Regions from separate parts of the Homo sapiens genome. Here region 2 is linked to region 1. The links are contacts of gene promoters, found by promoter capture Hi-C in blood cells and fetal thymus (Javierre and others, 2016). All regions are on one chromosome and are shown on one strand. The core of a region is centred on a gene start or on the middle of the fragment in contact, and the rest is flanking DNA. Distances in the headings are between cores, read along the strand shown.

The links. Contacts are between HindIII fragments. The CHiCAGO score rates a contact against its expected background, and 5 or more counts as called.
Region 2: a contact is called between a fragment that was not itself captured here and the fragment with the promoter of RAPGEF2 in region 1, in 1 of 17 cell types (megakaryocytes). The highest score is 6.0, in megakaryocytes.

The regions. Positions count from the first base shown.
Region 1 is chr4:159,098,843-159,104,481 of GRCh38, forward strand. RAPGEF2 (Rap guanine nucleotide exchange factor 2) reads left to right here and starts at 4,237. Exons shown (of 30, transcript NM_001394067.2): 1 at 4,237-5,389. The coding sequence starts at 5,321. RefSeq lists an enhancer at 3,387-4,078 and silencers at 3,727-4,266, 4,397-4,616, 4,657-4,946, 4,695-4,989, 4,957-5,376. The HindIII fragment of the contact is 5,553 bases long and covers 1,760-5,639 here.
Region 2 is chr4:158,246,096-158,251,985 of GRCh38, forward strand. The region is part of intron 12 of TMEM144 (transmembrane protein 144); the gene reads left to right. Among named protein-coding and RNA genes, the nearest start is that of TMEM144, 39 kb to the left of the region's middle. The HindIII fragment of the contact is 4,780 bases long and covers 1,119-5,890 here.

The DNA.
Region 1 (5,639 bases), core at 2,987-5,486:
TCTGATGTCCTAGATGCTGAGTGGTGATATGCATTATTGACATATGTAGATAAGTAGGTTATACATAGTGTGAAAATTAGCTTTAATTGAAGTTAAATGATAGCTTAGAAGTTGACAGTGAGTTAGTCATTTTGTTGGTGGATAAGACATACTATTATGTCTTACCTGAGGTGATTGATGTAATTCAGTGTTACAGTAGAGCACACAGAGAAAAAAGACTTGGGTGTGCAACTGGAATTCCTAACTCTTGCTGTGAGATCTGGCAGAGAGGCATTCCTGTCTGGTGTAGAAGGTCCCCTCTAGCATCCCCCCTCCCCATGGGGCAAGGAGTTCCATACTCTCTGAGCACCTGGAACCCTGGTCCTGACTGCCTTGCCACTTCCAGACCTCATCTTCCAAGGCTGGCCCCTGGCCCGAGGAATCACCAAGGGGTGGCTTTTTTGAGGGGTGTGATATCACTTAGATGTGTAGGCTGGGTTGTCCTTGTCCTTTTTTTTTTTTTTTTGAGATGGAGTCTCACTCTGTCACCCAGGCTGGAGTGCAGTGGCTTGATCTCAGCTAACTGCAAGCAACCTCCACCTCCCAGGTAAAAGCAAATTTTCTGCCTCAGCCTCCTGAATAACTGGGACTATAGGCACACGCCACCACGCCAGGCTAATTCTTGTATTTTTAGTGGAGACAGGGTTTCACCATATTGGTCAGGCTGGTCTGGAACTCCTGACCTCGCGATCTGCCCACCTCGGCCTCCCAAAGTACTGGAATTAGTACAGGCATGAGCCACCGCACTAGCTGGGTTGTCCTCTTATGTGTGAGCCTTTCCATGGGATAGGATGAAGCTGAGATGGAAAGAAAAGGGGATTCCAGTTGCAGACCAGATACCAGTACTCCCTGCAGTAGTACTCAGTACTCCCCCAGTTAATTTGTAGCTTTTAGTATTTATGATAGAGTATATGGATCCCCATTTGTTAGCTGGCTCCAGAACTTTCTAAAGTTAAAGGCAGTCCGGGAACTAGGACAAGTCATGTAGCCTATTTTAGTGTCAGTTCTTCATCTGTAAATAAGATAACACTGTCCCACTAGCCTCAGAGAGTTGCAATGATGAGAATAATCTTAAATATAACTACCATTTATTGAGTATATACTGTTGTTAAACCACTATGCAAGGCACTTTGCATGTATTATCTTGGATCGTCACAAATCTTCAGGGTATGCAACTTTTTCTTTTTTTGTGACAGGGTCTTGCTCTGTTACCCAGGCTGGAGTGCCATGGTGTGATCATAGCTCACTGCAACCTTGAACTCCGGGGCTCAAGATAACCTCCCACCTCAGCCTCCTGAGTAGCTAGGACTGCAAGTGCACCCCACCATGCCCCGCTCCTTTTTTTTTTTTAAGTTTTTGTGCAGCCAGTGGTCTTGCTATGTTGACCAGGCTGGTCTTGAACTCCTGGCCTCAAGCTATCCTCCTGGTTCAGCCTCCCAAAGTGCTGGGATTACAGGTGTAAGCCACTTTGCCTGGCCAGACTATTCAATTTGTACTCTCTTTTTATAAAACAGAAAACAGGCTCAGAGAGGTTAAGTTTCCTCTCCCAGTTTTCTCCCCGCAACCAGGGACACAAGTGAGATAATGTATGTAAAAATCTCATACAAATACAAGGTAACATGAACTACTTCATGTATCCATTTAATACCTATTTGTTGGCTGCCTGTCTTGTGTTGAGGATATAGCAGTAAATAAAAGGGACAAACATCCCTGACTTAGAAGCTTACATTACAGTGGAGGGATAAAACAATAAATAAAATAAATAAGTATAGATGGTTCTCAATTTACGATGGTCAATAAATTGACTTTCGATTTTTCCACTTTATAATGGGTTTATCAGGGTATTAAATGCATTTCTGACTTACAATATTTGCGACTTACAATGGTTTCTCAGGATGTAACCCCATCCTAAGTGGGCAAGCACCTGTACAATATACAGTATGTTAGGTGGTAAGTAAAGCGACGAAGATAACCAGAGTGTATGGAGTTACAGGGAAGGTGACATTCAAATGAAGATATGATGACAATGAGGAACAACATTCTATATTTTGGTTGTTGTGTGTGTGCATTTTTCTTTTTGTTTTTTGTTTTTGTGGGTGCAAGTGGGGTGGGGAGAGGGGGAGAGATAATCCAGGCAGTAGAGGGAACAGCAGATGGAAAGGTCATGAGACTGGAATTTGCTGTTTCAGAAACAACATGGAGGCTAATGTGCTTGGGAACAGAATAGTAGAAGAGGTCAGAGAGATAAAGGTCCATAGGATATTCAGGCCATGGTAAGACTTTGGCTTTTACCTTGAGTGGTATGAGGAGCTAAGCAGAGGAATGATTTGAGAAGGAGTGAAAAGAATTCACACTTTGGCTGCTGTGTTGGAAATGAACTGTATGGCAAGCAAGGTTAGAAAGAGGGGGACCAGGTGGGTGGTTATGACAAAGTGCTGGCCAGACATGATGCTGGATTGCACCAGGGTCATGGCAGTAGAAGTGGTAGATAAAGGTTAGAGTTCAGATATGGCATTCTGGAGGTTGAGCTGACGATTTTTACTGACACTTTTGAGGTATAACAGAAAGAAAGGAGTCAAGGAAGTCAACGTTTTCACCCAGGAAGTGAGAATGGTGTAGATGTGATTAACAGAGGATGGGGAAGGCTGTGGGTGTCTGAGACAGGAGATCTGGAGCCTGGTTTGCACATGTGAATTCTGAGATGTCTATTAGACACCAGGTGGAGATGTCAGTTATATTTTTTCACTTCATTGGGTTTGAATTCTTTTATCTGCCTCTCTCCTTTTTTCAGAGCTGTATTGGCACTTATTCATGTTCCTTTGCTTTCAAGGTAGTGGCCTATGTCATAGAGAATTTGATGTTGGCGCTCAACTAAGAGGTGAAAGAGAAATATAGAGAAGCAGTTCCAGCAAGAGTAATATAAAAAGGTCTACAGATACAATTTGTAACTCAGATTCCCTTTCACAAGGTTGGGCAGGGACAGTCCCTTTGCTAGGAAGTCACACAAGCTGTTTAGTGCACACAGGTGACTTAAGGAACCCCAAAATGTTAGCTGACAATCTATTCCAAGTGTTTAAACTAGATGTTGAAAATCATGTTTGAAAAGTTCAACGCAGTAGCTCATACATAAAACTCATTGTGTCTATAGATATCAAAATAAGAACTTGTGGGGGGTGGGGGCAAACAAAAATAAATCCCTGGGACCAGAACAGCAGAGTGGTCCCCGATGCTTGGGCTGACCTTAACACACCTCTACGTGGCCGGGGCAAGGAGTGGGGGGGAGCTGAGGGAATCAGCAGGAGCGGTGACATCTTGAAGGACGAGGTATTGTTTCTGCACCATGTGGGTCCGGTTTGGAAATTTGAGCATCTAGAGGAGGAGGCTTGTTCTGTCCAAGGCAAAGCCAGACCTACCAATAAATGTTTCTGATTATGTCACAGAACTTGCCATCCTGGTCTGTCGCTAAGGAGTGATCAACTTTAAATCTGGAGTGTTTGTTGGTCTAGGGGTGGTAGTGGGTCTGGTGTTGAAACCTCTCTGCCTAATTTCGTGGTCATTTTACTGTCTGAGGTGCCAGAGTGGGCTTGGAAAGCAGGGGAGGGTGCAGCAAATTACAAATAAGCAAAATAAATCCTAAGAGGATTTATCGCCACAGAAGCAACTCGGACGCAACTCTTGGGCTCAAAAAGAATGCCCAGTACAGCCCGGGCTGGTGGGCCGGTCTTTTGCCCAAGGTTAGCTTTCAGCCCCTGGGCGGCGGCGTGGCGCCAGGAGCGGGCGGGGAGCAGCGACCCGACGCGGCTGGGTCTCCTAGTAGGGCGCGTCGGGTGTGGGGAGGGGGCGCGGCGTGAGACAGTGGGGGACACTGCGTGAGGAAAGCCCTGCGCTTCTCTCCGGGGCACCAGGACTTGCGCCCCCTCTTCGGGTCCAGGCCGCGCGCGGGACCCGACAGCCCGGCCGAGGGCTCCGCGACCCACTTGCGGCCAGAGCGCTGCTCACCTGGGCGCCGCCGAAGGTGCCGCTCAGACGCGAGGGCGCGGCCGCTGGCGGGCGGGGAGCGGGGAGGCGGGACCCGGCGCGACGGGGCTGCCCCGCCCCCCGATGATGCGGCGGCCGCCGACTCGCCCCCACGCTGTCACTCATTCCTCACCATGGTTGCAGCACAAAGCAACAAGCCCCAGAGGCCGCTTCCTCCCTGAGGAGCGGCTCCGGCGGCCGGAGAAGGCGCAGGAGGAGGAAGAGGCGGAGGAAGAGGAGGGGAATCGCCGCTTCCCAAACACTCTCTCCGAGGGGGCTGTGCGCGGCTCTCGGCTTTCGGCCCTCGGACGCCCGCGCCGGGAGTCCGAACCCGGGCTGTCCGCGGCCCCCTCTTCCCCCTCCTCCGCCCCGCGCAGACGAGGAACAAAGTTGCCGAGAGCGACTGGGCCGGAGGGCTGCAGCCCGGGCCGGGTGCTCTGGCCGCGGCGGCGCCGGCGCCGGGGCAGCTCCGCTCCGGGCGCGCTGATGGGGGGAGGCGGCGGCGGCGGAGCCCACAGCGGCGGCCCGAGCAGCAGAGGCGGCGGCGGCGGCGGCTGGGCGGCCCGAGGGGATGCAGCAGCAGTCGGGAGGGACGGCCGAGCCCAGTAGACAGAGACCAGGAGCGGCGGCCGAGGCGATCGGGCTTCGCAGCGCCCGGACCTGAGCCAGACCCACCTGGTCCGTCCTCCCGACCGGCGGCCGAGGCGCCCGAGGACTGGGGACGCGGAAGATCCAAGTGATTCTCGGAGACCCCTGGGCGGCGGCTGCGCAAGCCCCTGAGAGGAGGGGGCGACCCTCAGCGCCGTGGGGGAGGAGGCTCCGCCTGCCCACAGCCCTCCCCACTGCCACTCGTACCTCCCTAAAAATAACTCGGGCCCGCTGGGGCCAGGAGGAGCCGCCACTGTCCCCCGAGTGGAGCCGGGGAGGCGTGTCGAGCCAGGGCCGGAGGAAGCCGGCGGAGCGGCGAGGAAGAGGAGGAGGAGGAGGAAGGGGAGTTCCGCCTGCGGGCCGCATCGCACGGCAGCCTAGGGGCGCCGCGACCCTCCCGGCTGCGTCCAGCCCCTCGCGCCTGTACCGCGCTCTCGGCCGCCGGGCCCAGCCGAGCCGCCCCCCCGCGGGCCCCGCGCCGCCGCCGCCGCGGTTTGGCTGATTAGTCGCGGGCGGGCGGGCGGGCGCAGCGCGCAGGGCGGAGGCAGCAGCGGCGCTGGGCCGGGAGGAGGCCGGCCAGGGTGCGGAGCGGCCCCGGCCCGCTCCCAGAGGGGAGATGGCGTCCTACGTAGATAACAGCTTCCGCCAGGCGGTGATGAAGAATCCCCCCGAAAGGACCCCCCAGGTGAGAACGCGGCGGCCGCCTGCCCTTGGCCGGATTTCTGCCTCGCAGGCTGCGTCTTCCCCTGTCCCCCCACCTCCTTCCTGACACAGTTCGCCCCGAGCACCCCACTTCTTGCATCAGGACCCCCAACTTCCAAAGGCATCCCACCTCCGAGTCTTTTACTCCGCCTATCCTGGTTTTATTTTTCCCTCTCCTTGACATTCTGCTCCTTAACTCTTCCCTCCCCATGACTGACCTTTCCCACTATGTT
Region 2 (5,890 bases), core at 2,259-4,758, 850 kb before region 1:
TCTCCCTAACAATTTAAAGATTTTAAAATGTTTAATCTTTTTTTAAAAAATTGCTTTGGAACTTTTCCCAGTTACCTTTACTTGTAGAAAAAGTCTTCAGTTGAGGAATATATGCAAATACTCTTTTATAAGAATTTTTATTAAAGACAATGTTGATCCAAAGACCCCTCCCCAATCAAGTCATCATAGACCTGTCTTAATATGCAGTTGTAGTAGCAAATAATTCCTGGTTCTAAGGAGATTGATGTTGCTAATCTCTAACAACCATAAAGTGAATGTACTTCTACCTGATCTTTAAAATGATTATTCAATTTTAGATTTAAAACATCATTTCAATCATTGTAAATGAAATATTTTGATTTAAAATCCATTATTTGATAATACAAGTAACATTCTCAGATTTAAAAAATAATAAACTTGTTTCAAAAATATGTGGACTATGATCAGAATTTTTATTTTTTTTAAATACACAAGAACAACTTGAAACATTTATAAACCTCTAAGTTACTTTCGTGAACATTTCTCATTTATTGTAGTCAGAGTTCCTTTCTACAAAAAGTAACTCTATGCCCAAAATATGTTGTAAATCTCTCTGCATATATTTCATCTACCTCACAAAAAAAGATTTATTTATATTAAAGAATTGGTTATTATCTCATGTAAGATGCTGAAGCCTTAGAAAATTACAAATTAGTCATCATAGTTTATTAGTAATTATAGGTATGAAGAAGTACAAACCAAGTATAGATTTATATTAAAGCATTTGAAAATTATTTTGGTCATGACTACAATAATAATACTGAATTGAAAATCCTCTTAACTACATATAAGAACCCTATTCAAAGAGAATCCCTAACCAAAAAGCCTAGTATTAATTGAAAAACAGTGAGGAATGTTTTGTTTTGTTTTTGGTAAAGACATCTTTAAAAAGACACATCAGACTGAATAGAAAAGTAACTTTTAAGATTAATATACTATGACCCAATAGGGTTTAATTCAGGAATGCAAGGATCGTTCATAATACATAAATTAATTAATATCATTTACTCTACCATATCAAATATGAAAAGGACGTGATAATACTATACTAACCTCTTAATAAGCTAGAAATAAAAGGAAGCTTTAGTGGTACAGTATGTCTATCAAAACAAAATAGCAATTATATACCTGAGTTTCATGAAACATAAGAGTTCTCCATATATTGGAAGTCAAGGATTTCTCCATACTATTATACGATATTTCCTATAGATCTAGCTAGTTTGGAAACACCAGAATAAGAAATGAAATGAATAAATATAGGAAAAGAAATAAGAAAATTATAATTTGCAGATTACATTTTTAAAAAATGTACACATTGTGATTTCAATTTATTGGTGACAAAAATTAAAAATTAAAATAAAAATTTAAAAGAATCAGCTGAAAAATTTAACATCCAATAAGATCATTTAGTAAGGCTTGAGATATAAAATAAATATGAAATCAGTTGCCTTCCAATGTATCACCAACAACCAGTTAAAACGAGGAAAATAAATGCTATTAATAATAACCACAAAAATTACATAAAATCTAATTAAAGAATTAACAAGTAATGTGCCAGGTTTTTAAAATACTGTATTTTACTTTGCTACAAACATGTACTAGAGGACATAGAAGATCAGAACAAATATAGGAGACTTGTCACATTTCTGATGGAACATCTCGCTGTTATAATTAGGTAGTTCTCTCTAATTACGTTCAGTATAATTCCTGTAAAATCCCAGTGAAGCTCTTTCTAGAATTTTTAGAGTAGGTCCTAAAGTTTGGCTAATTATTTATGTAAAAATAGGCAAAAAAAAAAAAAAGCATGACAGCACATATACCATATTTCTGAAATGTGCAATTTAGATTAGCTAGGCCAGTTTTCTTATAAAATAAGGATTTCTAAACTTAAGAAAATGACTGTTTGCTCTTTTCTGTTTTAAAAAAATGACTAAGATAAGATTACAAGTATTAAAAGAAGAGAGAGGGCCAAGCTGAAAGCAAAGAATTAAAAAAAAAAAAAAAAAAAAAACCTGGGGCCAGGCATGGTGGCTTATGCCTGTAGTCCCAGCACTTTGGCAAGCCAAGGTGGCCAGATCACTTGAGCTCAGGAGTTCAAGACCAGCCAGGGTGACATGGCAAAACCCTGTCTCTACAAAAATACAAAAATTAACCTGCTGTGGTGGTGCATGCCTCTAGTCCCAGCTGTTTGGGAGGCTGAGATGGGAAGATGGCTTGAACCTGGAAAGTGGAGATTGCAGTGAGCCAAGATTGCACTCTGGCCTGGGTGACAGAGCTAGACTCTGTCTCAAAATAACTAACCACATAAATAAATAAACAAAAAATCTTATATGTCATCTACAAGCAAAATTTAACAGATGTCCAATGGTACTTATTCAATGCAGACACCTAATTGCCTCTTGACAGCTGATTTAAAGAAAAATTTTAAATACTTACATGCCAATCAGTTTAGAAAAGCATCATCAACTGAACACTAAAGCCTAAATATCATAAGAATAATTTTTAAAGTATTTTTGTAGAAACAGGACAAAAACCCCTAAACTCTAAAGAAGAAAACAAAAGCAAACCTGTTATCTGCAGGACTCATAGGTACTGTCAGTTATATATCTTAAAGCAGTCCTTGAAGACGCATATTTAAAAGTCTACAACCTACAGCTGCGAGGAATAAAGCTGAGAGCCAAGCACCTTTTGTGTGAAGGACTTTAATGATTCCATTTAGTTTTAATGCCATCAGTGCATCAGTTGGATGTTTTCATACTTCTGATACTCTTTTTTGTTTGTTTGTTTTTTGAGATGGAGTCTCGCTCTGTTGCCCACGGTGGAGTGGAGTGATGCGATCTCGGCTCACTGCAAACTCCACCTCCTGGGTTCAAGCGATTCTCCTGCCTCAGCCTCCCGAGTAGCTGGGATTACAGAAGCCCGCCACCACGCCCAGCTAATTTTTGTATTTTTAGTAGAGACGGGGTTTCACAGTGTTGGCCAGGCTTGTCTCGAACTCCTGATCTTGTGATCTGCCCGCCTCGGCCTCCCAAAGTGCTGGGATTACAGGCGTGAGCCACCGTGCCCGGCCCTGATATTCTTTTATATCTGATATCTGTTACTCATTGGGAAATTCATTTTAGATTATTAAATCTTTAAGCTAGATATAAATTATATTTTTACCAACACACTTTAGTCAGTATGTCTACAGTAATGCCAACACAGGCAGTTACTACCACAACAATGTATAGGTCAGTAAGCTACTCCCTGGTGAAGAATGAGATGATCTATTATCTTAGTAGAAATCCAAGTTAAAAAACTTTCTGCTTTGGGAAGAATGTTAGTGTGCTCTTTCCAAGAGTTAACATCCACCTTTGATGAAGGAAAACCATTGCTGTTGCCCAACTATAATTAGTCTTTTTCTCTAGGAGACTGGACAGTTTTAGCAAAATCTTAACATTGAAGGGGAAAAAAATTTTTCATTCCCTGAGAACATTATTCTTCTGTCTACATAGGTAATAAAATAGCGCTTAGCAATGTATTCACGTAATTAGATTGTAGAGTGCTTGTAACTGAAGACCCATTTTTTAATTTAAGTAATTGCATCAATTTCAAATTCACAAAATATACGTGGAAATCACCTTAGTGTATTTGTTGTTTGAACAAATGTTTATGGAATACCTATTCTGCATTAGTACCAGTATCTAGGTGAGAATTGCAGTCTTAAAAATTAAGAAAAAAAAAGGTGCTGGGAAATCCAAAGCCTACTGCCAGGTGTGTGTGTGTGTGTGTGTGTGTGTGTGTGTGTGTGTGTGTGTGTTTAAATAAGCTGTTCTGCACTTGGCAAGGTTTTCGGGTGCTTCTATTTGTAGAATTTGGGATTAAAGTGGCTTCTGTTAGTGCTAAGGATCACACTGAATCAGACAATTCAACTGGCCCCAACCTAACTTGCAAAGACCTATCTCTGGTCATCAAACAGAGGCAAATTTATCTACTCTGATTCTTTAAGTTGAAGAAAGGGAACATATATATATAATTTAGTTAGTAACATAATTATTTGATTTTGTTAATTAATACATAACATATATATATATATATATATATATATATATATATAGTTACATATTAGTTAGCATTAATCTTACGAACTAATAATACAAAAGACCTTTCCTTGGCAGTTTTCACATTCCCTCCATCCTGGACTTTGTTTCTGTTCTGTTCAGATTTATTACACAAATTTACCTCTGATCTCTGCATTCTTCCAGTAAACTAGAAACACAAGACCTTTAAGGAAGTGTGAGGGAAGTAGGCAAAATGAAACCAGACAAAAGTCCACTCTTTGAAGTGAGAATTTCACTGTGGAGCCAGGAGAGCCACGTGTTCCTACTGTCAACCCGTCTATCCTGCCCCAACCCTGTTTCCTGTGGGAGCCCAGTTAGAACTTCCCTTTCTGGGTTTCCCTCAAAGCTGACCTGGCTGCAAGGCAGCAAAGACAGAACCACCCTCTACCCTCTGACCCCTTGCATCTATGCTGGGGGAAATGAGTCTCCCTAAGCCTACACTTTGCATGGCCTGGCTGTAGGAACCCAAGTTTGGTGCATGTTCTTCACTGAGTCCTTGAGTGAGCATTAGGGGAGATACTCATGAATCAGATTAGCCCTGAGGATTAGCCTCTAACAGCCCAGGGTCCTGCTTTTATGAACCCACTCCCCCCAACAAGTCAGTCAACTCTTGCACCAAAAACACAGCATTCTATTCCCACTACCTTTCCTGAAGTTTTGCCCAAATTTGGGTAGTGTGAGGCTATTAACCTGTTGGACCTCAGTGGCCAGAATTTTCACCAGAGAGGGAGGACACCAGCCCTATTCCCTACAGATTTGAAGCTGGCAGGATACCAACTGCTGCCTAGAGTTGCTTCCTCTCCATTCCTTTTTTCTTTTTCCAGAACCCTTATGTGTCTTCTACAATGACTTACCCATGAACCATTGTTATTTTTCCTTTTAAGAAGGATCTAATAGTATTATTAAATAGTGTTATTATCTGATTGTAATCTTAGATGTATCTAAAATTAGAGAGGTGCTAGTCTTGTTTTACTTTGTAATGTTCAAACCTTCCCTTAGAATACTGGAGTCTTCCGCCTTGGATTCAGACTCTCCTGATGACCCACCCTTGGGACCCTTAGACCAGGCAGCCAGAGATTGCCATGCCCTCATTGGCAGAGCCAATGCCCTTAATCAGCAGGAAGTAGATACAGAAGACTGACTTCCTCCCACATCAAGCCTTAAGGATAAGGGATAGAAATCTTTAAGTGGGGGGGATGAGACAGGAATAATACAGGGTGGTCACAGATTAGGAAAATCCCAGGCAGCAGTTTCACATGACTAGCAAAAGGAAACTTGAAATAGCTGCAGAGGCCATGGGCTGATAAGACCCTGAAAAACAGCATGTGGATCAAGCTGGCTAAGACCAATTGAACCCAACATGGTGCTGGATTTGCCCTAGGTTTCACCTAGGACCTCATTATACACTCATTAACATACAAATCACACACCCACCAGCACCATGACAGTTCTGGGACCACCCATATTTGGTGTAAAAATGAGTGACACCACAGTTCTGAGAAATTGTTACCTTTTTCCAGGAATCTTCATGAATATTCCACCCCTCGGCTAAAGAAATGATGAAAATAGGAACCCCAACCCCCTTGTATGATTCTCTCTTGAGTATGTCCGCACTCCACTTTCTTGAGTGTGTACTTTTCACTTTGCAACAAGTCTCTGTACTTTCACTAAAAAAATAAATAAATTAGACTCTTTAAACATAAAGAAGGATATAGACAAAATGGCAGTCATTCAGGGGGAGCAGCCAGGAC